Regions from separate parts of the Homo sapiens genome. Here all the other regions are linked to region 1. The links are contacts of gene promoters, found by promoter capture Hi-C in human tissues and cell types (Jung and others, 2019). All regions are on one chromosome and are shown on one strand. Each heading gives the region's core, a stretch centred on a gene start or on the middle of the fragment in contact. The rest is flanking DNA. Distances are from core to core; before and after follow the strand shown. Region 1 holds the start of PSAT1 (phosphoserine aminotransferase 1). Region 2 has its middle 61 kb from the start of FOXB2. Region 3 overlaps GCNT1 (glucosaminyl (N-acetyl) transferase 1). Region 4 holds the start of LINC01507 (long intergenic non-protein coding RNA 1507). Region 5 overlaps LNCARSR (lncRNA regulator of Akt signaling associated with HCC and RCC).

Region 1 (4,869 bases), core at 1,499-3,998:
CTGAGGGTGTTCCTTGTTGAACTGGAGGAAATTTGGGGGCAGAACACTATAAACAGTCCTTCAGAGAGCTTGTTACCTGTAGGCTCAATAAGGCCTCAGATAAGCTGGAGTTTGCCCCTCAAAATATTGATCTGTACAGTGTTTTGCTGAAATTTACATTTGTAGATGTTTAAAAATGAGATGTCACATAAAAATCTGGGTTCCTGGGTTTTCTTTCAAAACGTGAAGACAGCTCAAGCAACTTCATTTGCCTGCTTGGCAACAACCAGCTGGATCTGAACTTCAGCTGTTGCATTTAGGATGGCATAATAATCAGGATAATGTGAGCTGCTGTAACAAATCGCCTCTCATATTTCAGTGACATAGCACAAAAGAAGCTGATTTCTCACTTACATATGACAAGTCTGGTGCAGGTGATTCAGGGACCTGGGGCTCCCTCTTTGCTGTGTCTCCACTGTCCTTAGGGGCCAGGGAGTTTTTTGTTTTCAGCCTGTGGAATGGGAAAAAGGAAGTGGAGAAGCACACCCATTTCTCAACCACCCTGGCCTGAAAGTGACACACATCCACTTGGCCCACATTCCACTGGGGGGACCCAGTCATGTGGCTCACCTAGATGCAAAGGGAGCTGGGAAACATGAAGCCGGTTTGAGCAGCCACTTCCTGCCATCAACCCTATCCCATGGATGGGGGAATCATAAATGTGCAGTGGCCGCGTGCACCTGTGCCACAAATGGACAGGTGAACTCAATTTGCCACAGTTCCCACTACTTGTTTCATATCCCTGAGTGGCCCCTGGAGGCATTTGAGTTTGTGGCTCTGGTTTAAGGTGTTTGTGGGCACAGTGTGAGGAAGAAACATGGAAAAGACAGATTTTCTCTAGACTGAAAAGGAGATTGCCCAGGGGCGGGAGGAAGACAAACAGAGGTCAGTGGGTCCTGAGGCTGACTGTATGTGTGACTTGTGTCCCTGAAATACCATCTTGGAAACTGCAGGACCCCCGGGAGGAATGGCTGCAGGGGATGTCTTAGCAGATGAGACAATAGCCACCGCCACCCCACCCCAAATTCCTGTGCCCCTAGTGGGATACAGAAGTAGTAGGTTGCTCATCAACCCAAGCAGCCACATCAGCTTGGGCAGTGGAAACAACTCAGCCATATCTTTTGGGAACAGAGGACCAAATGGATGTGCTGTCCCTTCTCCCAACCCACTACATGGGACTGTGTATAGCCCTGGTGTTAGGAACTAACTCCAGGAAGGATGAAGGCTGACTCCCTTAGTCTCCAGTAGATAAGCTGCTAGGGGCAGCTACTAATATATAATAACTGAGTTATTTACGTAAAATAATGGATATGTGATGCTTCTTGCATGCCTGAGTTTCTGGGCTGAGATTTATTCTGTCTTGAATGTCGCGGTTTTCTTAATGAAGTTGCTGAGGAACGCAGGGGCCTTGTTCATTTTGCCTTTTTCTGGAAACTTTGTCCTCCAATTCCCAGATCCAGAGCAGTGCCTCTGCTCTCAGCCCCATACCGCCCACATTCTCATTAGGAAAAGCAAACAAAAGCCAAAGTCCTGTCCAGTTACAAGCCTTCTCTAAACGGGGCAGTTGGACTGTATATATTCCTGGCGCATCAATTTTACTCAGACAGGGAAAATATTTTTACATTAAAAGAAACTAGGTTAAATTATGGTAGAGAATGCAAAATTCACAGTTTAAAAATGATGAAATTCCAGACTTCAAAGGAACTTCTTTCTTGCAGGGTAGGGGGAGGGTATTCTGTTTCAGAACCCCATGCGGGTCTCCACTGGAGTTCTTTTGAGAAGGACACTTCTGTGGAAAAGTTTGAGCAGCTCTGGCCCTGCGCCTGGCCTGGCTAGGGGCCACCTTCTTCTGGTTTGGGCTGCAGCGCCCTATGGGTATCGCGTTCTTGTTAATATCTCCTCACGTTTCTAAACTCACAGCTTGTCAGCGCGGGCGCAACCTGAGAGCTGTCGCAGGTTTCCAGCTCACTCGTTTCCCAAAGGAGGAAATGGAGAATCAGCGACTTTAAAGGACTTGCCTGGCGGGCATCCACGCTTCCCAGGCTATCGCTCCTCCCTGCGTCCTTGGCCACCTCCGTTCTTTAATCCTGCAGGAACTCAGGACCCACGTGCAAATACAAAGAACCGTATCCACCCACCCCCGGCCCTTCTTCATCCTGCGCTTCCAACCTTGGGGGGGTCCTCTCTCTCCACTGGGGTATCTGACGCCCGTGGGGGGTGCTTAGAAAAGTTTGGTAGATTAGTGACTGGTGGTTCTGGAACAAATACATCACAGCCCAAACTGGGGGCTGGTGGTGGAGAGGTGGGTGGATGGGGGCTACAAATCTGCTCGGCAACTGCCCTTTCAGCCAAGAGAGAGGAGCTGAGGTCCTCTGGGGTTGGAGGACTGGAACCGGCCAGATTGCGGGCTCAAGGGGCGAAGGCAGGTTGGCAGGGGCAGCCTCTTCCCGCCGCCCACAATCCTCGGGCGGGCGCGCAGCCGAGCCGGCTCGGCTGGCTGGCGCAATCTCGCGCGCTCCTTGCATTGATCAAAAATGGGGGTTGAAACAGTAAACGCGAGGAGGAGCAACTGCTTCGACTCGGCTCAGAAGCGCGACCAATGGGGATGTGAGCTCCTTCGCGCGAACCAATTAGCGCAGGGCCTGCGACAGCACGGGCCAATGGGGCGCCGACTCGGCGCAGGAACAAGGCGGGGGTTCGGGGCCGGCTGCAGACTCTCACCGCAGCGGCCAGGAACGCCAGCCGTTCACGCGTTCGGTCCTCCTTGGCTGACTCACCGCCCTGGCCGCCGCACCATGGACGCCCCCAGGCAGGTGGTCAACTTTGGGCCTGGTCCCGCCAAGCTGCCGCACTCAGTAAGTCCCCGCGAGCGGGCGCCGGGAGTGAGGTTCAGGCGGGAGCACGCACGCGGGTGGGTTTGCATCCCTGCGTGTGGCAGTCGGATTCCCGCTCCCTGCCTTGAGTCCCCTAGGCGCTTTGCATCAGCGTGCACAGCGGGATCAGCAGCTCCGGCAAGCGGGCTTCGGGAAGAATGCAGTTGGTGAGGAAGCTCGGCGAGGCGTGCCCGTGCAGCTGCCCCTGGCCCTGACTGCTGGTGCGAGGCAGTGCACGACTCAGCTGGCCGGGGCCTGCTGTCCCGCCGGTGCCACGCACCTGCAGACGCCCGGGCTGTGCCATCTCCTGGGCCGGTCCGGGGGCTGGGGCGGGGCGAAAAAGAAAAAGCTCTGATCTCTGCCTTCGCCTCGCGCAGCTGTGCGGCGAGCCCGGGCAGTGTGGAGCGGATGCATGAATGGACATAGTGTGAATGAGTGATGAACGGGAATGAACCGATGACAGGTTTTGCATATGCAGTGGATCACGTTAGCTGAAAGGGATTGCAAACTTAAAGGTCCGCGTGTGCGTGCCCCCCTACGCCTTACACCAGTGTTTGCTTTAGCCAGCACTTAGGAACACTGCTTTTCAGAAATGTAAATTTGAAAACCTTCAGTCCAGCTTTCCCCTCCTTGTCCCCCATAGAACCTACCCTTTCCTAAAGCCTTTCTCCCCACCCCCCTCCTTTTTTTAACCTGCTTGTCCCCTAAAGGCGTTCGAGTATTCTAACTCTGGTAGACTTTGGGCTGCTTAACCCAATTCCCTGTTCATTTCGTTCTGGAGTAAACCGAGTGATTGAATTCTCTCCCGGGCCACAATCAGATCTTGCTGGTGGAACTCACTCTCTGCCTTCCCAGGCCCCAGCCCGGCTCCTCCCCTCCCCCGCCAAACCCACCGTCCCCAGCCCCACCCGCAGTGAAGAAGGCAAAGTCTCCGATGTGCCTTGAGCCCATTGTCAGGCGGCTGCCGCCGCCGTTAGATTTTTATTTTTCTAACCAGGATAGAGCTGATAATATGTTGGAGCAGCATGAGGCATAGCCAAGTATTTTACAATTATCAATTGTTGAGCAGAGTAGAAATCTCCCTGGGACAGAGCCTCCTCTGTGTTGTGGTAAGAACAGAGAATCCAATTTTAAAGGGGAAAGGACTTCTTACTTTTCTAGGGGCAGCGCTCACAGTAGCTGAGAGGACAGGGCTTATTTTTTCTCAGTGGTTACAGTTCATTTTAGGCGAGATTCCCTGCTCCAGCTGTGGAGATGTTTCCTGTAGCCTCCTCCTGCACCCCCCATGTTTTGGAGTGTTCCCAACGTTTGTTCCCTATGTATTTCGTTATTAATTTATTACTATAATTGTAATGGCAATTGTCATCAGTAATACAATTATTTGTTATTAATTTTTCTGGGAGGATTTTTGCCCTTGGACTGCATGTAACCTGGGGGGCAGGAGGGTGAGGGGGCAGGCAGATGTTGCTTTTTATGTATTTCCTTGATTTAGTTGAATTGTAAATATTAGAGAAGCTTTCAAACTTCTTTTGACTGTAACCTACAGTGAAAAACATGTTTACAAAATGACAAAGTATACACATTCAATTGTAACAAAAATAAATGCCTTATGAAATGATGTGTAGCCTAATTACCTGTGACATACACTATTTTGTATTCTATCCTGCTCTAGTCTGTTCTGTTTCATTAAAAAAATTAGTCGTGAGCTGGGTGTGGTGGCGCACGCCTGTAATCCAAGCAACTCAGGAGGCTAAGGTGGGAGGATCTCTTGAGCCCAGGAGTTTGAGGCTGTAGTGAACTGTGATTGTCCCACTGCATTCCAGGCTGGGTGATAGAGCAAGACCCTGTCTCTTAACAAAAAAAAAAAAAAAAAAAAAAAAAAAATTGGTTATGATCCACAAAAGCAATGCATTCTTCAACTGGAAAAAAAAAAACCTACTGGATTAGGGAGGTGTGA
Region 2 (5,036 bases), core at 1,009-3,508, 1.2 Mb before region 1:
TCCCAAAAAGATTATAATAAAGTAAGTGGAGTCATAGCTTTATACGTTTATTTCTTATACAATTTTGTGTTTAGATCTCACACAATTTTTTGTTTCCTCTTATTGATGGAAATGGTGGAAGTTACACAAACCTTCTGCAGTAGAACTCCTGTGACTGTTGTTTACATTGTCACACAAATGGAGAAGATTGCTTCTGGTGCACCATGACACACATACACACACACACTCATACACACTCTCATACACACAAACTTTAGTTCTTGGTCTGATGAAGAAACTTGGTTTTAGATTTTGATAATAAATATCATCAGTTTCTAATTGACATTATTCTGTTTTTTAAAGTTTCTAAACCTCTTCTGCTTTTTATACCTCCTAATACCATTGATAATATAACCTCAAGAAAATGGCAGGATTTGCTCATTCAAAACTAATGCAGAGAACTCCCAAATACATGAACCAAAAATGGAACTGAAAGGAGAAATAGATAAATCCATAATTGTAGTTGGAGATTTTTCAACACCCATCCCTCACTTGTTGATAAAGTAGACAGAAAAATTATACAGAATCAGTTGAGACGGCACTAGAGAGGCAACCCTTATTAATGGTGACTGCTGTTTCTCTATCTAAATTCCAGTTGCTTTAACTACCAATTCTACTCCTTTCCTGATATCTGGCATAGTGTGTGCTTCAAGTGGCATTTCAGCTCCTGATAGGTTGAGAACTTGAGAAAATGATGTAATCGTCTCACAGGTTCTTCCTGCCCACTGCACAGACAAAAAACAATTCACTGAGACTGTGAAATAGATAGGCAACATCCTGATGGCAATAGATTGGCATCAGATAGGCAATACTCAAGGCAGGGTAATTCATATGATATACCAGCCATGGAGGATTTTTGAGGAAAAGGAATAAAAATTATATAGGTCTGGTTGCACCTTGACTAACCAGTCCAAAACTGTAAAGATTTTTGAAGATGAAAGTTGGAAAACTGTGAATATAAGCAGCGAAAGGGCAAGTTTCTTGACTATTTCTGCAGTAAAGAAAGAGTTCAGTTGACACTAGCCTAGCCATGTGGTAGACAGAGTTAGTACTCAAATCATTCTTCCCAAAGGCCTAGAGGTTTGGGTTTTTCAAGGATAGTTTGGTGTGCAGGGGAAGAGGGAATAAGTGCAGCTGATTGGTTGGGGACGCAATCATAGGGGTGTGGAAAACGGTCCTTGTGCGCTGTTTCCCTCTGGGTTGGGGGCCACAGGACTGGTTGAATCATGAGTCCAGGTGGGGTTAGTCTGAAAAACATCTCAAAAGACCAATCTTAGGTTCTACAATAGTGATGTTATCTACTGGAGCAATTGGAGAAGTCGCAAATCTTGTGACCTCTAGCCACATGATTCCTGAGCAGTAAGGGATTATAGAATCTTCACTTACGTTTTAGCAGAATTCAGGCTCTTCCCATGATCCTAATCTTGTGGCCTTTCATTAGTTTTACAAAGGCAGCTTCAGCCCCTGAAAAAGGAGGGGAGCAGTTTTAGGGAGGGGCTGTTATTATCCCTGTTTCAAAGTTAAATTACAAACTAAATTCCTCCCATCGTTAGCTTGGCCTACACCTAGGAATGAGTGAAGACAGCCAGCCTGTGAGGCTAGAAGCAAGATGGAGTCAGCCATGCTAGACTTTTCTGCCTGTCTTAATCTTTGCAAAGACAGTTTCAATGAGAGTGTGAAAGCTGCATTTCGGTAATCCAGGGTATGGAGAACATGTTAAACAGTTAGTCTTGCTGAGACATAGAATTTCTAAAAACTACCCTGATGGGAGAATGTTTCAAGTGAGCCCTCCCCTACCATCTCTACCACAATAAATTCAAGGACACTCAGGTATGGTGACCTTTCAGGGCCTCTCGAGGAATTACAGTCGTTCTCTCCCTGTTTCTCCTGAAAATCACAGCACAGTGGCCTCCAGAACCCCATCAGGAAATGAAAACCTTTGCCTTTAATTTTGCAGGAATTTCTACAGCAGCAGCCGGACAGGAAGAATGCACCATCATGGAAGATCTAACTCTGGGGATTGGGAAGACCAAATTTGCTCTCTAAATCACTCTGGTTCAAGTTCTTACGTCTCATAGTGGTTGCAATTAATTAGGAAATATGAAGAAGTCATGACCCATCTTCTTTCTGTGTTCCCACTGATTAGCAACGATCAAGCACCAGGCCTGGAAGAAATATTGTCAGACTGTGTTATGTTGGGTTGTTTTGTTTGGTTTGGTTTGGTTTGGTTTTGGTTTTCTGTTCTGAGTCAGAGTTTCGCTCTGTTGCCCAGGCTGGAGTGCAATGGTGCGATCTCAGCTCACCACAACCTACGCCTCCCGGGTTCAAGCGATTCTCCTACCTCAGCCTCCCAAGTAGTTGGGATTACAGGCATGCGCCACCATGCCTGGCTAATTTTGTATTTTTAGTAGAGACAGGGTTTCACCATGTTGGTCAGCGTGGTCTCGAACTCCCGACCTCAGGTGATCCGCCCACCTCGGCCTTCCAAAGTGCTGGGATGAGCACTGCACCCAGCCTCGTGTATGTTGGTTTATGAGTCACCCGGGAAAGAATGCCTGACCCATGGTTGTCATTTGGCAATGGGGCATGCAGGCAAACACCACAGCTCCATGGGACCCCACAAGAATTTATTACAAAGATTTACCTGAGGCCATCAGACAGGCAACACTCAAGGCACAGTAATTCATATGGTATACCAGCCACAGAGGATTTTTGAGGAAAAGGAATAAATATTATATAGGTCTGGTTGCACTTTGACTGACCAGTCCAAAACTGTAAAGATTTTGAAGATGAAAGTTGGAAAACTGTGAATATAAGCAGCAAAAGGGCAAGTTTCTTGACTATTTCTTAGACACAAGAGTATTTTACTGGTTTCTAGTATGTGACTTATACTCTGAATACTCATTGCAGACCATTTCTATAAGTTGTTTGTCCTAGCTTTCTAACTTTCTTTTTTTTTTTTTTTTTGAGACGGAGTATCGCTCTGTTGCCCAGGCTGGAGTGCAGTGACACGATCTCAGCTCACTGCAAGCTCTGCCTCCCGGGTCCACGCCATTCTCCTGCCTCAGCCTCCTGAGTAGCTGGGACTACAGGTGTCCACCACCACGCCCAGCTAATTTTTGGTATTTTTAGTGGAGACGGGGTTTCACCATGTTAGCTAGGATGGTCTCGATCTCCAGACCTCGTGATCCACCCACCTCAGCCTCCCAAAGTGCTGGGATTACAGGCGTGAGCCACCGCACCTGGCCTGAATGTCCTAACTTTCTTAAATGTCTTTGAAAGTATAAATCAGAAGGCTGACACATTTTTTTGTAACAGGATAAATAAATAATTGACCTCTATCATATTTAACCAAATAACCTGTAAGGTAAAGACATAAACATAAAATAGAGGAAATGTGTGGAGAGATAAAACTGGTGTTGGTAGGCCGGACGCAGTGGCTCATGCCTGTAATCCCAGCACTTTGGGAGGCTGAGGTGGGCGGATCACCTGAGGTCAGGAGTTCGAGACCAGCCTGGCCAACATGGTGAAACCCCATCTCTGCTAAAAATACAAAAATTAGCCGGGCACAGTGGCACATGCCTGTAGTCCCAGCTACTTGGGAGGCTGAGGCAGGAGAATCACTTGAACCTGGGAGGTGGAGGTCGCAGTGAGCCAAGGTCGTGCCACTGCACTCCAGCCTGGGTGACAGAGTGAGACTCGGTCTCAGAAAAAAAAAAAACAAAAAAACAATACAACAACAACAAAACTCATATCTCAGGAAAAGAGACTAAAGGTCTATACCCAGGACACCACATCCAGACAGACTTTTCACCTATCCTTCTGAGAGCTGCTACCTGAGAGAATTTATCTGCACATTAAGACAACCTTTGTTGGCAGTGCGGTTCCTCTCCTCACCCTCCTATAGTTTGTTGTCATCATCCCCTAGGAGCCCCCAGCTCCTATTTCTTTCTGTAGCTCAAAATGCTATTTAAGCTTCAACCCATCTGGCCTTCTTTGAGTCTCAAACTTTGTGGGAGCCCTGTGTGTATGCACATAATACATTTGTATCCCTTTTGTCCTGTTAATGTGTCTACTGTTGAGTTTATTTATTTATTTATTTATTTTGAAACAGAGTCTTGCTCTGTTGCCCAGGCTGGAGTACGGAGACATAATCTCGGCTCACTGCAACCTCTGCCTCCCGGGTTCAAGCGATTCTCCTGCCTCAGCCTCCTGAGTAGCTGGGATTACAGGTGTCTGCCACCACGCCTGGCTAATTTTTTTGTATTTTTAGTAGAGATGGGGTTTCACCATGTTGGTCAGGCTGGTCTCGAACTCCTGACCGCAGGTAATCTGCCTGCCTCGGCCTCCCAAAGTGCTGGGATTACAGGCATAAGCCACTGTGCCTGGCTGCCGAGTTTATTTCTGAAACTCAAATATTGAACCTCCAGAGAGAAAAGAGAAGATTCTGTCACATCTATACTTCTTAGAATCTGACTTTTCTAGAAAAAGGTAATATCTACACATAGCCAAGACCTACCCTTTGGGTAAACTAGGAGGTTTAATTTTTTGGTAAACTTAGATAAATACGAGGAGATTAAAGGCCTCTTCAACTGTTAGGCAGAGCCATTGTTCACAATGGAGCGTATCCCTTGGTGTGATGGATTGCATTGATGTGTGGCCTTCTCGCTTTGAATGTGTGCTGAAAATATAGATGAGCAAAAGTACAGACAGTAGTAACACAGAGTCCATGAGATCTCCAAGCTGAAAAGGCTGAGAATTCAGACAGGAGCTAAGGGCTTTTCATGGTTGCTGAACCTAAAAAACTAAGTTTGTCAGACAAAATTGTAATACTTGGTACCAACTCCCCATAATAAAAGATTTTATTTTATTTTATTTTTTTGATTCAAGTCCACAGGAGTCTTCAAAGGAGACAAGGAGAAGGTGACGAAGGACTCCAACACAGCAATTTTTATCTGCAGGCTCTGTTTATACTTCATGCTTCCTAGGTTTGGTCT
Region 3 (4,881 bases), core at 1,568-4,067, 1.8 Mb before region 1:
TGTTGCAGACAGGGTCTCACTCTGTTGCCCAGGTTGGAATGCAGTGGCACCATCTTGGCTCACTGCAACCTCCACCTCCCAGGCTCAGGTGATCCTCCCACCTCAGCCTCCTGAGTAGCTGGGACTACAGGCACACGCCACTATGCCTGAGTAATTTTTGTATTTTTAATGGAGATGGGGTTTTGCCATGTTGCCCAGGCTGGTCTCAAACTCCCGAGCTCAAGCGATCTGCCCACATTGGCCTCCCAGAGTGCTGGGATTACAGGTGTAAGCCACCATCCCTGGCCACTAAAGTGTTTTTGATTTGTGGTTGTTTTGTTTGTTGAAGACAGTGTCTCACTTTGTTGTCCAGGTTGGAGTGCAGTGGCTATTCACAGGTGAGATCATAGCACACTTCAGTTGAACTCCTAGGCTCAAGTGATCCTCCCACTTCAGCCTCTCAAGTAGTTGAGACTATAGGCATGGGCTACCATATCTGACTAGAAGTAGTTTTATTTTAAACCCATCAAGTCCTGAGTCCTTCATGTTTTCTCTAAATTCTACTTAAAAATTGAATATACTTCTTTAGTTCATCTCTCTCACATTTTCTCAAAGGCAGATACTGGGCCAGATAGCACTTCCTACATTCTTCTCAGAAATGTTCTTAGGCAGATCCCTGATATGGTGAAATATCCTCTCAATTTTCCTTGTTAGGGCAGGCAGTAGTGTTGCTCACATTCCTCCAGTTCATTTTCTCCAGTTTCCAATGAGATTTTTTTGTTTTTGAGACAGTCTTGCTATGTTGCTCGGGCTGGAGTGCAGTGGCTATTCACAGGAGCAATCATAGCACACTGCCATCAAACTCCTGGGCTCAAGTGATCCTCCTGCCTCAGCCTCCCTTGTAGCTGGGACTGCATAGGCCCTGCTGTGCCTGACTCTGATTTGAGTTTTTTTTTTTTTATTTTTTTTTAGACGGAGCCTTGCTCTGTCACCCAGACTGGAGTGCAATGGTGCAATCTCGGCTCACTGCAACCTCTGCCCCAAGTAGCTGGAATTAGATGTGCGTCACCACACCCAGATAATTTTTGTATTTTTAGTAGAGACGGGGTTTCAGCATATTGGCCAGGCTGGTCTTGAACTCCTGACCTCAAGTGATCCTCTCACCTCGGCCTCCCAAAGTCCTAGGATTACAGGTGTGAGCCACCGCACCTGGCCTAATTTGAGTTTGTAAAATGATCGCTGTTGCTGTGTAGAGAATAGTTTAGAGAGGTAGGTCCTGCTGGCACGTTTGGTGTCTTTGTGCAAACCCAAGAAAGGCTTCTATTCTGTGTGGACCAATTAGAAAAAATGCACCACTGTGTCCCAGCTAGGCCAGGTCAAAAGGCTTCAGCCCCCTGAGCCAGACTTGTTACGCAGGCACAGCCTGTGCAATCATGTGGCCACCCTGGGGAGGAGGAGGGTGGATGTGAACAAACAGTGCTTTTGCAGTCACCCAGTGATGGCGTAGCAGCACTGGATAACGCTTAATGACAGGTGAGGATTGAGATTGAGTGAGATTGGGTTTGTAGTTAAAATCAGCAAGAAGGTGGTGATTATTTGGATATGGTTGATGGAGAGGGAGGTAGCAAGGATGATTCAAAAGTTTCTGGCATAAACAACTGAGTAGGATGGGATGGTGGAACCATTATGGTGATTGAGAACACAGGAGGAGGAGCGGGTTGGCACGAGGTGTGGGAGGGAAGATAATGCCTTTTTGGATGTGTGTTTTGTTTGTGAGACATCCAAGTAAAGATGAGGAGTAGACAGTTGCTACTCCTGGAAGAGATCTGGGGTGGAGATACATGTTTGGGAGCTGTTGCATGTAAGTATTACTGCATAAAAAGCACTCATCCAAAGAGGGTGTAGAATGAGAAAAGAAAAGGGCTGGACCCGTAGAGTTTGATCACTGTATTTGGTAGAGGAAGAGAGGCCTGTTAAGGGTACTGAGAAGTGTGATATTCATGCAGGGCAGGGAGGAAATGAGGGGTCTATGATGTTTTGTTTTGTTTCAGATTGAGATGGAAGAAATTTAAACATGCTCTAATGCTACTGGGATTTTGTTTGTTTTGTTTTTGACAGGATCTCTCTCCATTGCCCAGGCTGGAGTGCAGTGGCACAATCTTAGCTCACTGCAACCTCCACCCTCTGGGGCTCATGCCATCCTCTCACCTCAGCCTTCAAGTAGCACCAAGGGTGTACAGCACTACGCCTGGCTAATTTTTGTATTCTTTTTCTAGAGACGGGTCTCACCATCTGTGTTGTCCAGGCTGGTCTCAAATTCCTGAGCTGAGGCAATCTGCCCACCTTGGCTTCCCAAAGTGTGGGATTATAGGCATGAGCCACTGTGTCTGGCCACTACTGGGAATTTTCTGGTAGAGAGGAAGAGCCTAAAGATGCAGGAGGGTAAAATAAATGATAGGACCAGTTTTCAGAGAGGGTGAGAACACAGTGCAGAATTTGGTCTTTGATGGAAGGACGGAGGGAGAGGATGGATAAAGATGCTTTAGATTTTGGGTCCAGAATCGTGAGGACTTTTTCTGAAGGAAGTGGCAAAACCATTGGCTGAGTTTGGGGTGTGTCTGTGTGTGCAGTCAGATATTTCTTCAGCCAGCATTTAGTAAGCATTTTCTAGTGCCAAGCTTTGTGTTTGGCTCCCTGGAAAGTGTTATGAATGATGATTACCTTGAAGCTTGGCCCTGTACACCTGAAATAGCCTTGCACCACTTTTTCTACAAATTGCTTCCTACCTTTGACCTTACAGGCTTGTTAACTAAAGGCAGTAAATGCTCAGCTGATCTTTTTTTTTTTTCTTTGAGATGGAGTCTTGCTCTGTTGCCCAGGCTGGAGTGCAGTGGCACGATCTCAGCTCACTGCAACCTACGCCTCCCAGGTTCAAGCGATTCTCCTGCCTCAGCCTCCCAAGTATCTGGGACTACAGGCACCCGCCACCGCGCCCAGCTAATTTTTTGTATTTTTAGTAGAGATGGGGTTTCACCGTGTTAGCCAGGATGGTCTCAATCTCCTGACCTAGTGATCCACCCGCCTTGGCCTCCCAAAGTGCTGGGATTACAGGCGTGAGCCACCTCACCCAGCCTCAGCTGATCTTTTGATGGGCATCAAAGCCACTAGGGGTGACAGTCCTGGAGGGGAAGGACCTTTTCAAGCCCCTTCCACATCATGCAGGTTCATGTTCCATGTCATGGTTCTCGGTGTTGGCTATACATTAGGAACACCTGTGGAACTTTTAAAAAAACCTGACACCCAGGTCAAACTCTATATCAATTCCATCAAATCTCTGGTAGGGGGACTCGTTATTGGTCCTTTTTGAAAGCTCCCTGGTGGTTGCAGTGTACAAACCAGATTGAGAGCTACTTGCCTGTTGAGTGGCCCTGAGTCCAGTTAAAGCCACTCTTCTGTGTTGAGCTCCAGCCCCTGCTGCCTGGAGTTTACTGCATTTGTCAGTTGTGTGGAACAGAAAATAAGGCTGAGACCAATTGTGTAGGACAGAAAACGAGGTTGAGATTATATTGGTATCCAAAGCAGGAAGCGAAGGACAGTCCTTTGGGGGTGTTGAAAGGAAGTGTAAGAACCTCTATTTATAATTTTATAAGCATTTAAGGTCAAGAATGCCAGTGGTCCCTCTTTCAGTGTTTTTTTTTTTTTTTTTTTTTTTTTTTTTGAGACAGTCTTGCTCTGTCGCCCAGGCTGGAGTACAGTGGCACAATCTCAGGTCACTGTAACCTCCACCTCCCAGGTTCAAGCAATTGTCCTGCCTCAGCCTTCTGAGTAGCTGGGATTACAGGCACATGCCACCATGCCTGGCTAATTAGTAAATACAGGGTCTCACCATGTTGACCAGGCTGGTTTCGAACTCCTTAACCTCAGGTGATCCGCCTGCCTGGGCCTCCCGAAGTGCTGGGATTACGGGCGTGAGTCACCGCGCGCCGACCCTCCTTCAGTCCTGTGTCTTGTACGGTGAATGTGGTTTCTAAGGTGGATAAGGAGGCAGGGATTCCTTGCCTAGCTGGAGCCCTGCTCACCTGGCCATCAAGCATACTGTGAGATGTTGCAAGTTAGGAGCTATAGAGTGTCATCGAGTTGTTTAATTTTAGAAACACAAAGGCTTTAAATTAGAGCATCTCAGGTTAGACTTGTCCCTGAGCGGGTGATAGGTGTACTGAGATACTGCATTTCTCTCAGCCCTCTCCCTTAAGCCAAGAGAGCTGAAGCTGATGTTTGATGGTTACCTTTTGGTATATATGTCATGGCATGAGAAAGAATCACTGCTTTAGTCTGTAGAAGCTTTGTCGTCCTTTGCCATGCCCTGGGGAGGGAGCAGGACCATCCTTTGCACCCATCAGAGCATTCCTAGTTCTTTTGTTGCCAGATACGTAAGAGTGGTTGAGTTTACAGGTGTCTGCATCTCTCTTTAGCAGAAAGATGGGGTTTCAAATGTGTTGCCTCTTTCCAATTTTGCTATGCCTATCAGTAGTCAGATATTTTGGGGAGAAGGGAAAAATCCAAGGTAAATGTGAGGTTCTTACAGTGAATTACTTTTCAAAAGAAATTTCTGCTACCAAGGGGCATTTGGGAAGTGGCTGTGTGGAGAAGTTTTCATTGTAATGCGAACATATTGCCAAAAAATATTGTACATTTGTGAGTTATCAAAGCTCTCAAAGGAAAAAAAATTAAAAACTGGGAAACAGAATTGTCATACTACTTTAATTGAAAAGTAACAATGAGTTTTTAATCCATTTGTTAACTTTATGGGGCACCTGCAGACTATTTTGATTAGTCTTTACAATTGATTGAAACCCACTGGGCAAATTTCGCCAAAAAACTATGTGATTGGTGGATAGAGGA
Region 4 (5,632 bases), core at 82-2,581, 1.5 Mb after region 1:
GCAAAATCCTTCACTAAGCTACAGAATGCAGAGAGTGCATACCAGGGGTGAGTTGCCAACATAAGGCTTAGTCAGTAAGGTGCAGGAGGAGGCATTTGATACACATTTCCCTCCTCTTCACCAAACACCTGGGCAGCACTCTGCAAGAATTGTATTCTATTTACGGTCATCTTGCTTATGATGAAAATTATATGTTTCATCCCAAGCAACAATGAAAAAATTACTTTGAAACCTCTCACTGGCACTTCTAATGAACACAATAAATAGAAGAATATGCTCATCAAAAATTGTTCTCCTTTTCTCCATGATAAACCCAATAAATATTTCATTAGAAGAAGGGTTTAGCTTCTCATGTGAATTGTGAAATCTCTTGGGTTATATTAAGGCTGTAAATGTAGTTCAAAGCAGCTCAGAGTCTCGCTTTAGGGGATGGGTGCTTTTTATTTTTTATCCTTTCCCTAGAGGGTCTGATTAGCCCAGAGCTCATTTGGTGCAATAATGGAACAGGAAATTTTCTACGAGCGACTGCAACAGAGTTCCAGTTGAGAGTTTGCTACCTTGGGAGAATCAGGTCATTCTCATATCTGCTGGGGAAACGCATGCTCCCCAAGAGAAAGGAATTGGAAAAATAAATTCTTCTGACAAGTGGAGAACTTCTGCTGCAGAATGTTTCTGAACCTTGCCAGAGGGGGAGATTTTGTCTTCCTGATCTGATTGCCCTAGCATTTTCCCCTCTTCCTTTAAAATTTTGTGTTTTTATTTTATTTATTTTGTTTTAACATAAGATAACTGAAAGGTCTAAATGCTCTAATGTGCATTCTTCTAATGTGAAGCGCTCATCATTTCAGTTCTGAACACCGATTTCTGTCACTTTGGCCAACACGAAGGAAGAGGCACACTTCTTTTCCTCACTGACACCTCTGATGACATGATACACAAATGATGGACTATGTAATAATTTAACCATGCCTGATCTTTCTGCCTGGGGCACTTGCAGTACTTAAAGCCTCAGTGGGTCTTTATTTTTTATATCACTCAAATAGAGAAACCATGGTATGTAAAATTCACCTATTTTTAAATCTTTAACATGGAGATTTCATTTTTTTTCTTATTGCTGACCAACTATCCCCATAAGCGAAAGTGGTAGAGTTCTAGTTAGAAGGAGATTCCACAAATATTTTAATTATCATTTTTTCCTTCGTTAATGTCTGGGGTTTTCGTATGAGCTCTCTCCTTTATCTGGGCACTGTGCAGAGGAGAAATTGCGTGTCCTTCAATCTTCAGGGTGATCCGTTGGTTTTGTCACTTTGATTATTTTCTTTCCCAAGTACTACACAGCATATGTTTTCTGCTGGATTCAGCTAAATTCATTCCCCTCTGGTTCACTGTGTTGCAGATGATGTGATGTACCAGGGATCTTGCTTGAAGCCAGTGCTAGATTTCTTAAGAGCACTTGAGCACCTCTTGAATGACATAGGAATTCCTCTGACACAACTGACATGGTGATTCTTTTAGGACAAGGACATGCCATTTTTTTTCTTCTTCTTCTTTCCTGGTGTATCCAGGCAGGATTTAATATAGAGATGGATGAGTAGACAGAAAGGAAGATGAGGTAGGTCTTACAGATCTGTCTTTTAAATTAACAAAAGCCACAAAAATATTAAGAATTAAGCTACATTTGAAGAGGCCTCAGGAGAAATCTGTTAGTCTCCAAGACCCAATGGCATTTAAATACACTCAAGACAAAGCCATGAAGTGTCAAATTGGTCATGAACTTCATCACAAAGTGTGGAAACCAAGAGGATGAAAAAACAGGAAGGCCTTAACCAATTTAGATGTTGTCAAAGAGCATTCTTAGAAGCCCTGTCTGAAAGATGTTAGTTTTGCCTAATGCCGATTATCACCTAATTCCAACTGAGATTGAATTTCAGACTGTGAGTAGTAAAGGTGAGAGGAGGAGTGGAGACTGGTGGTCAGCGGAGTTGAGAGGTGGGAGCTCTGGCCACTGGGAAACAGATGTTGCAATTTTTAATGGGTTGGTCAATGTCATTGACAAGATGGCATTTGATTAAGGCCTTGAAGGAGAGGATCAAGTCAGCCTTATAGAAACTTCGGAATGGAGACAAATCAAGTCAAAGGCCCTGAGGTAAGGGTGTACCTGGTTGAGTTTGAAGAAAACTGAGGAGGTCAAATTTCATGGAATGTTGCTGTAAAGGGGAAATAGAGGATAATATGGGGGTAAGGAGGGGTTCTTTTTAAGACACTTGACACTGATGGGCATGACCCAGTACAGAGGAAGAAATTCTTGATGTAGGGAGAGTGATGGGAGAGGAGAAGTTTCAGGAGTCGGGTTTACGTAAGAGAGAGGAGATGGAATCTAGGATGCATGTGAAGTGTTGGCTTTAGGGAGAAGCTTAGACAGTTCAGCTATAGCAGCAGGAGGGAAGGACAAACATATGGACACTGTTTCCAGTAAGGAAGGAGATTTGGGGTCAGGAGCTTGGGAAGCTCTTTTCTGATGTGTGTGTGTGTGTGTGTGTGTGCGTGTGCGTGAGTGCAAGTTAAGTCATCAATGGAGAGTAAGGATGGAAAATATGTGTTGGAGGTTTGAGAAGAAAGAAAAAGTCAAGAAATAATCATCTAGGGCAGTGGTTATCAATGTGTGGTCCAGATTAGCAGGGTCAGCATCATCTGGGAACTTGTTTGAAATGCAGTTTCTTTTTTTTTTTTTTTTTTTGAGATGGAGTCTCGCTCTATCACCCAGGCTGGAGTGCAGTGGCGCGATCTCGGCTCACTGCAAACTCCGCCTCCTGGGTTCATGCCGTTCTCCTACCTCAGCCTCCCGAGTAGCTGGGACTACAGGTGCCCACCACCGCGCTCGGCTAATTTTTTTGTATTTTTAGTAGAGACAGGGTTTCACCATGTTAGCCAGGATGGTCTTGATCTCCTGACCTCGTGATCCACCTGCCTCGACCTCAAAGTGCTGGGATTACAGGCATGAGCCACCGCTCCTGGCTTCGAAATGCAGTTTCTTAAGCCCACCTTAGATTGCCTGATTCAGAAACTTTAGGGGTCAGGACCCAGCAATCTGAGTTTCCACACATCCTCCAGGTGATTCTGTGGCAGTCTCAAGTTTGAAAATCACCAGTTTAGGGTAACAGGGGAGTGAATGGATTATGGAAATATGGAATGATTGATGGGCAGAGCTCGAGACCTTTTTGAAGGTAGGGGTCATCAACTTAAAATGAGATCAGTCAGCAAGCTGTGTGGCTTTCTCCAGCCGTAGCAAGCTGTGTGGCTTTCTCCAGCCGTGGCCATCTGTGTTGGTGTGCAGAGTAAACTGAGTTGATTTAACCTGGCCTTGGGCCTTGTTAATCTTCTTAACAAGATTGTTAAGAATGTATGCAAGAGTGTGAGATGATGGACCATCAGATCTAATCTAGGTGGGGGAGGAAATTGAGGGACCAAGAAAAGCTTAAGCAGTCAATGGCTAATAGCTCCTAGTGGGGTCAAGGTTTCTTGGAGTTGGGGCATTGGTGAGAGTGAGCTGGAAAGACAGAATGGTTGAAATTGTAGTTATGGATTGCTTTACTAGTAATGATAAGGATAGAGTATGGCATTTGGAGGGAGTGGTTGAGGCAGGGTGGAAAATGTGAGAGTTGGAAAAGAGGGCCTCGAAAAACCGAGTCTAGGACATTGGAAAGATCATATATATATATGGATATTGAAATTACCAAATATGTTGGAGAAGTGGTGGTGAGTTAGGTGCTAAAATCTTCAAGGAATTAGGGGAGTGACCTGTGGATCTGTAGGTAACAGGAATAAGCTAAAATGGTGCTTGGTAAGGACTAATCACATGGTAATAAAAGATCAGAACTTTGTGTTGTTGTTTGTTCTTGTGGCGGGAAAAAGGATGTTCCAGTGGCAGTATGAAAGCAGAACACCTGCCCCTACCTCCAGATCTGGCATTACGAGAACCTTGCAAGATACCACAGCTACCACTTTCAGACTGCTGGGTAAAAGCAAGTGGTTTCCTGAGAGTCTGTCCATTTACAGCGAGAAGTGAAAAAAAGTTCTGAGAAGAAGTGAGGAGGAGCTAACAATTGAGCATGACTTCCAGAAGACAGTGTGGACTGGTTTCAGGTATTTGGGATGAGTGGCAGAGTGGATGAGAAAAGGGAGACTATAGAGATAATTGAGAATAAGGGTCCAGGAAGATCAGAGTTGATTGGGAGCTGCAGGCTCCTTGTGAAGTTTGATGTACATGAGAGAATGGCAAAACAAGATTTGCCTTGATGTTCTCAATGTAAGCACTGAGGAGAAGGCTTGGAGTGTTCCAGGACAGTGAGTGGTGGAGTCTTGCTGGGAGTGTTCTGAGCCTTTCTCTTTATTCCTGACAGTGGTGATGTGGGGCCCAGGATGGCAGTCTTATCCTGAATGCTTGGAAATCAGGGAGAGGTGTGGAGACCAGGGGAGTTTAATCTTTTTCAGTTGAATGTGTGGATGGCTCTTCAATCGAGTAGATTTGAAAGTGTGTAATGGAAAACGGTGTTGGAAATGAGTTGAGGAGTAGATGAGTCAAGGCTACTCTAATTTCAATGCCCCAAACCATGCCCAGCTCAAAAGTCACAGGGTGGTAATAACAGTTCCACTTTTCTATTCTTGTTAACATTAAGCCTCAGAAATAAATAAAAATGGGGGCCTGTCTTCAGCATATCAAAAGCAGCTAAATTTGTGTCCATTTATCCTTTCATTGTTGTGAGATCAAGCAGTTGCACTTCAAGTGCATTCACTGATATAATTTCCAGCAGGAGAGACCACTTCATTCCACATTGGTGCCCCACTCATGCTCCCAGCATGTACCATACAAAGAGACATCTGGTTTGCAGAGATGCTCTTAGGAACCAGCATGGTTTGGTGGCTTGAGCACAGGTCCTGGGTGTGAGGAGTGTGCCGAAGATGCAATAAGGCATACTTTTCTGGGGATGCACACCCGGACTGCAGAGAGGGGGCTACCAAAAAGCAGTTGGCTTGGATGCAAAATACTTTCAGAACAGGTAGCCCCAGTGGAAGCCTCTTCAACCCTGGCAAGAATTCCAAGTTTTGAGAGTGGTGCACACTCAATTTTCACACTGTATGTGAGCCATTGCTTTGTGTGGAAATGCTTGAATGCAAATAGAATTCTTGTAATGTGCCTTTAGTGGCGTAATATTGCATGCAGGGCAACAAGCCTTAATGCACTGCCTCCCTCACAGCTAGGCTTAATAAGTGGCAAGAGAATGGCCTGATGCAAAAATTAATACCTTTTAATGAGTCAAGATTGATTCTAGAATTTAAAGAAGTATTCCATGTTTTCAAATAAACAGGTAATAGAGAAAACTCTGGACAGCTATTGGCAATTTTGAATATCTGCAGAGAGCTAGAGGGATGACAGAAAGAGATTTGCTTCTTTAAGGCCTGTTTTAAAAATGAAACAATACCTTATAGTTCCAATTATATGACTTTCTGGGAAAGACGAAACTATGAAGACGGTAGAAGGATCCGTGGTTGCCAGAGGGTTTGGGGTTGGGGGTTAGGGTTGCATAGGTGATGCACAGAGAACTTTAAAGTAGTGAAAATACTCTGCAGGATA
Region 5 (4,948 bases), core at 934-3,433, 1.3 Mb after region 1:
TCTGTGTAGTAGTTGGGAGACAGGGTCCTCAGAACAGCAGAGTCCACCCTGGATTCTCATGAGGTCTACTGCAGAAGACCCATGAGCTGGGAAACTAATGACCACAGAAGGTTGCTTTCTTTCCAGAAGGTTCTGCTGGGACCTGGTCCTAGAGCCTGGGACTAGTGTAGGTCATGGCCAGTTTTCTTTTTCAGCTTGATCTAGAGCTGGTCACCTCCCTGGTGACTTAGTCCCATGTTCACCCTTGCTGGTGCAGGACTCCCAGGAGATCCAGGCCCAGCCACTCTGCCAGGCAGTCCTCAATTGCTGCCCCTAACACAGTGACTGCCCTCCTCCTAGAAGGTTCTTACCTAACTCTCCTTGAGCTTTCCAGACCCTCCTTGGATATTCTAGAGTTCATTCATGCTATGGAGAAGCAGAAAATGATGGAGGAGGTCCACTTTCTACCTCACCCTGGGCGACATGTGGGTTTACTTTCATATGGCCTTCCTGGTTGCTGAGAGCAGTCTGTGAGGACAGAGTCCTAGATGGAAAGGAGCACAGACGCCACTCTCTTCCCCTTTCTCCTCAACCTAACACATTTCGTTGACTCTAAGATGCCATTGGTGTTGAGATATACCATTGTTCTATGTACTACTCCTACTACTAATAATATAACATAATAATAACCTAATAATAATGCCCAGAAAGCTGTGACACATCCTGATGCATCCTGATTTCAGATATGGAAAAGCGTGAAAAGATATTTATTAAATCAGTTAAATGATTTATGTTTCTGATATACATGTCTACCCAAGGAACATTGGCCCCAAGAGAAAAGATGGTAGCCTAACCACTACTATCCTTCCTCTCCTCCCACAACCCTCAGACCAAGAGGAATAAGTCTGGGGTTTTTCATTTCCTATCATTATATCCTTCTGCTATCCCAGGGTAGCAAGCTTCACTGCCTAGCTTCTCCTCTCCATGGAAGAAATCATTATCTAGTCACCCATGCCTAGCTCTATTTCTTTTGAGATGGAGTTTTGTTTTTGTTGCCCAGGCTGGAGTGCAATGGTGTGACCTGGGCTCACTGTAACCTCCGCCTCCTGAATTCAAGCAATTCTTCTATCTCAGCCTCCGGAGTAGCTGGGATCACAGGCACTCACCCCAAAACCTGGCTAATTTTTTGTATTTTTAGTAGAGACGGGGTTTCACCGTGTTGGCCAGGCTGGTCTCGAACTCCTGACCTAAGGTGATCCACCCGCCTCAGCCTCCCAAAGTGCTGGGATTACAGGCATGAGCCACCACTCCCAGCCTCATGCCTAGCTCTTGATGTCACAATATGATTATTCTGGAAAGTTATTTCTGTTTTGACAAAGCCTGGCTTTCAACAATAGGTTGACTTGTGACATAATCCCCTTTTGAATATCAAAAATTGAATATTAGGTCTTTTTTTCATTTTGAACCATATCTATAACAATCCAAAAATTCTCTGAGGCATGTTTTTCAGATGTCTCTGGCAGAATAGGGAAAAGTTCAGTTTGAGAAAATACAAAACAAAGTCAAAGCACATTAAAATATTACAAAAAAAAGTTATTCTGTTTCATTTTTATCTTCTCACAAGACCTACTGTGAAACAATGGACAAATTTGACATACAGCAAATTCTAGCTGAAAAACAAAGGATGAAAATATTTATATGTGTTTTTCTAGTTCTTTTTTGTGAGTACCTTTGAAAATATAATTTGTATCATTGACTTTCTTGTAATTTCTCACACAAAAAAAAGCTAAATTAGGTCTTGTTTTCAAGGAACTCACCAGGAATGATGACTTAGTACTTGATATCTTTGCTATTTCCAAATGAATAATATCTGTCCCACCAAAAATAACCCTGAAGCCTTATATACTTTGTATTTCTTTGTGTTGCAATCTTTGGATGAGGAGTGAACATTTGTTTCTTTTTGGTATTCTAGTAGTAACATCTCGTAGGCAAAAAAAGGTACAAATAAAAATTGTTATTATTATCTTGGTATGAATGTAACTTTTTTAGTATTAATTTGGGGCAGGCCAAAAGAGAAATTTCAGAAGCAGGACTTGTAATATAGAGGTTTTGTGCTGTTACTGAAACTTTTTCTTCCTGGCATTCTTTAAAAAGAAACTTTCCTGAGATGCCTGGTGAGGTAACACGAGTGGCTTCTCTGGCCAGGATTTAGCTGCCTCCCAGGAATAACTATCTCCTAAGGGCCTGGCTCCTTGGTAGCATGTGCTAAGACACTGAAGACGAAATCTAACTACAATTCTAAAGTATTTGGCAGGTCAATAGTTGATAGCGCTAGAAGTATTCAAAAGAAATCATAATATGATTGTGTTGACTTATAAAAGAGGTAGCTGAAAGAAGTGAAAAAAGTCTCAATCACGTGGCATTTCTTCTTCACCAAAGCTTCATTATTTCTCATATTTTCAGTGTTTTAATCGTAGAACTATAATTTAAAATATAATTTTTGGGAAACTAATATCTCTTTATGCATTTTGAGGTGTGATCTTGCCCATATCTGGACAAGATATGGGCAAGATATGGCAAGATATGGACAAGATCTTGCTCATATCTGGGCAAAATGTGTGTGTGTGTGTGTGTGTATGTGTGTAGCATCAAATCTCTAGTAAGCCCAGCTTTAATATGGAAGTCATAAAGAGGAGAAATGAGTGAATGTTGCTGAAATTTACTTTATAGATGTTGCTTTTGGAAACCGCTGGTGAGCTAACGTACTATCAGTTTTGCAAACTGATCTTTAGAATCCTATAATAAATAAAAAGTTTTAGTTATAAGATTGTCATATGTATTGGAGGAATTACTAGAAGGGGGACATTTCTTTTTATGATGACTATTAATGGCTTTCTCTAGTTGCAAGTATGATCCAATATTTCCTCACCCGTTTTTTCTTCTATTTGTAATAGGCCCTGTGCCTTACTCCAAGAAGTGTTTCTCACCAGCGATTAATAGGATGCAACACACAAAAAGGGCTGGTGAATCTGTTTGTTACACTCTACTTACTAAGGCTATGGCTACAATACTCCAGTGCTGAAGTCAGTGAAAAGGCATCATCCAAACACAATCCAAGGAAAATGCAAGCTGATACAGCACAAAGATGCTTTGTTTAAGAATGGCAGAAATTTCCAGCAACTATCTGGGAGAAAAAAAATGCAGGATGGGAGGGAATGTAATCAAATAACAAAACAAACCCAAACTAAAAGAGAATCTTTATAAACCAGCACAAGGACACTTTGTTTTTAAGTGCACACAATGAATTTTAAAGATCTTTGTTCAGAAGGGAAATAAAGTATTATGAAGGACTGACACATTTGATGGATGGATGGTTTCTGAAAAACCACATTATCAATTACTTTTTCCTTGTTTGGCTCCAGTCCAGTAATTTTTATTTGAACAAGCCACATGCTAGCATGGTTTTGATTGCAGGAAGTAACTGGTTGTTGTTAAAGGATACTATTTCACTGATGAGCTTATCTCTTCCTCCCCCCTGCCCTTTCTGATGGGAATCCGATATGAAAGGCACAGCTTCAGTTGTTATAAACAGAGTCAGGGATTGTTTGATAGACCCACCCGTGTTTTGCTTTCAGCATTCTGTGGTACAATCCAGACAATGTATTCAGCAGGGCTTCAGAAAACAAAAGTTGAATTCGGCTTATTTCTGTTCTCAACTCTGACATGAAATTTTGATATCTCTGATGTTTGTCTCTCATAAATCTAAGTTTGTTAGCAAAAAAAAAGTTATGAATATTATATTCTTTTTTATATTAGACTATCTCAAGTGAAGCCTACTGAGAAAAAAGAATCTTTATGGAACAGTGAAGCTAAAATGTATCAAAGATCTTCTCAAACAATATAGTGCCTTGTACTAGCTTTGCTTGTTTTCTAATCTTATCAAAACAAGTATATCAGAACATTATTAGTGTAAATATAAGAAATACAGCTAATTAAGCTATATTATTAAGTACTCTCAGTTTTCCCTTGCCCTTAAAGAAAGATTTGGGGGCAGTCATCAGTGGACAGGAAATTATCTATGAAATCAATTGCTGACACACACAGGGCTGTGTGTGTGTGTGTGTGTGTGCGCGTGTGTGTGTGTGTCTGCTAGTCAAGATATCTTCCTTTATGATTGAATATTTTTTGCATGTTACCATGCCTGAAACTTAAACTATTTCTAAGTTCCCAGGGTATCATGGTAACTATAGGCTTTGGAAAGTTATTTAAGTATGTTTCCTAGTTCTATATTTTAAACACTAATTTTAGTGATTATTTCTCTGCTGAGAATTAAAAGTAAAAAGGTGGTCTTAAAGAATAGGCCATTTGATTATTCATCAGAACATGAAAACAATTCCAAATGAATTAGAATTTAACCTTGTTCAATGGAGGAAATATAAATTTAGCAACCATTTTGTTGACTTACTAATTCACATCAAAATTCTTCTAAAGATTTTGCAACATAGATGTATAAAATATATTATTAACCACAACTTATTCCCTGAAAACAAAATGAAGAAAGCAAAACACATTTCATATCAAAATTATGTATCTAAATATCATTTCTTTCTGATGTGAAGGCAGCTTGGAAAACAGCAAACAAAACAAACCCTTCCAGAGGAAAAAAAGTCCTGGGTTTGAATTTGCTGGTTGGCTGAACTTAGACAAGTTAGGGAACCTGAGGCTCCATGGATTCACCTTTAAAAAGAAGATGAGATGGAGATTATGGGATTGTATTCAATCATTTATATTAGGATGTGTGGCACACTCAATAAATGTTAGCTACCAATGGGGTTGATTACAGAACCTAGCTGTGGAATAAATATAAGTCCTTTCCAGGATATAAGAGAGCTTGGTGAGGCAAGATTCATATTAGAGACTTTCCAGTACTCTAAGTCTTTATATTTATAATATCAAAAACAAAATTATA

What was found. The method cuts DNA at HindIII sites, captures the fragments that hold promoters and counts their contacts. A contact is called where the count stands out against the background at its distance.
Region 2: a fragment that was not itself captured here is called in contact with the fragment with the promoter of PSAT1 in region 1 in 2 of the 25 tissues and cell types used here (H1 embryonic stem cells and spleen).
Region 3: a fragment that was not itself captured here is called in contact with the fragment with the promoter of PSAT1 in region 1 in 1 of the 25 tissues and cell types used here (sigmoid colon).
Region 4: a fragment that was not itself captured here is called in contact with the fragment with the promoter of PSAT1 in region 1 in 1 of the 25 tissues and cell types used here (heart left ventricle).
Region 5: a fragment that was not itself captured here is called in contact with the fragment with the promoter of PSAT1 in region 1 in 1 of the 25 tissues and cell types used here (dorsolateral prefrontal cortex).

Annotation. Positions count from the first base shown.
Region 1 is chr9:78,294,377-78,299,245 of GRCh38, forward strand. It overlaps PSAT1 (phosphoserine aminotransferase 1), which reads left to right and starts at 2,749. Exons shown (of 9, transcript NM_058179.4): 1 at 2,749-2,894. The coding sequence starts at 2,835. RefSeq lists enhancers at 1,835-2,104, 1,995-2,578, 2,579-3,162 and a silencer at 3,115-3,354. The HindIII fragment of the contact is 7,295 bases long and covers 1-4,869 here.
Region 2 is chr9:77,078,532-77,083,567 of GRCh38, forward strand. No RefSeq gene overlaps it. Among named protein-coding and RNA genes, the nearest start is that of FOXB2, 61 kb to the left of the region's middle. RefSeq lists an enhancer at 1,488-2,687. The HindIII fragment of the contact is 5,140 bases long and covers 1-4,828 here.
Region 3 is chr9:76,464,230-76,469,110 of GRCh38, forward strand. All of the region lies in intron 2 of GCNT1 (glucosaminyl (N-acetyl) transferase 1), which reads left to right. Among named protein-coding and RNA genes, the nearest start is that of GCNT1, 7.5 kb to the left of the region's middle. The HindIII fragment of the contact is 4,539 bases long and covers 549-4,881 here.
Region 4 is chr9:79,820,484-79,826,115 of GRCh38, forward strand. It overlaps LINC01507 (long intergenic non-protein coding RNA 1507), which reads left to right and starts at 4,047. Exons shown (of 3, transcript NR_121213.1): 1 at 4,047-4,143. The HindIII fragment of the contact is 3,223 bases long and covers 1-2,943 here.
Region 5 is chr9:79,556,504-79,561,451 of GRCh38, forward strand. The region is part of intron 1 of LNCARSR (lncRNA regulator of Akt signaling associated with HCC and RCC); the gene reads right to left. Among named protein-coding and RNA genes, the nearest start is that of LNCARSR, 9.0 kb to the right of the region's middle. The HindIII fragment of the contact is 4,637 bases long and covers 1-4,502 here.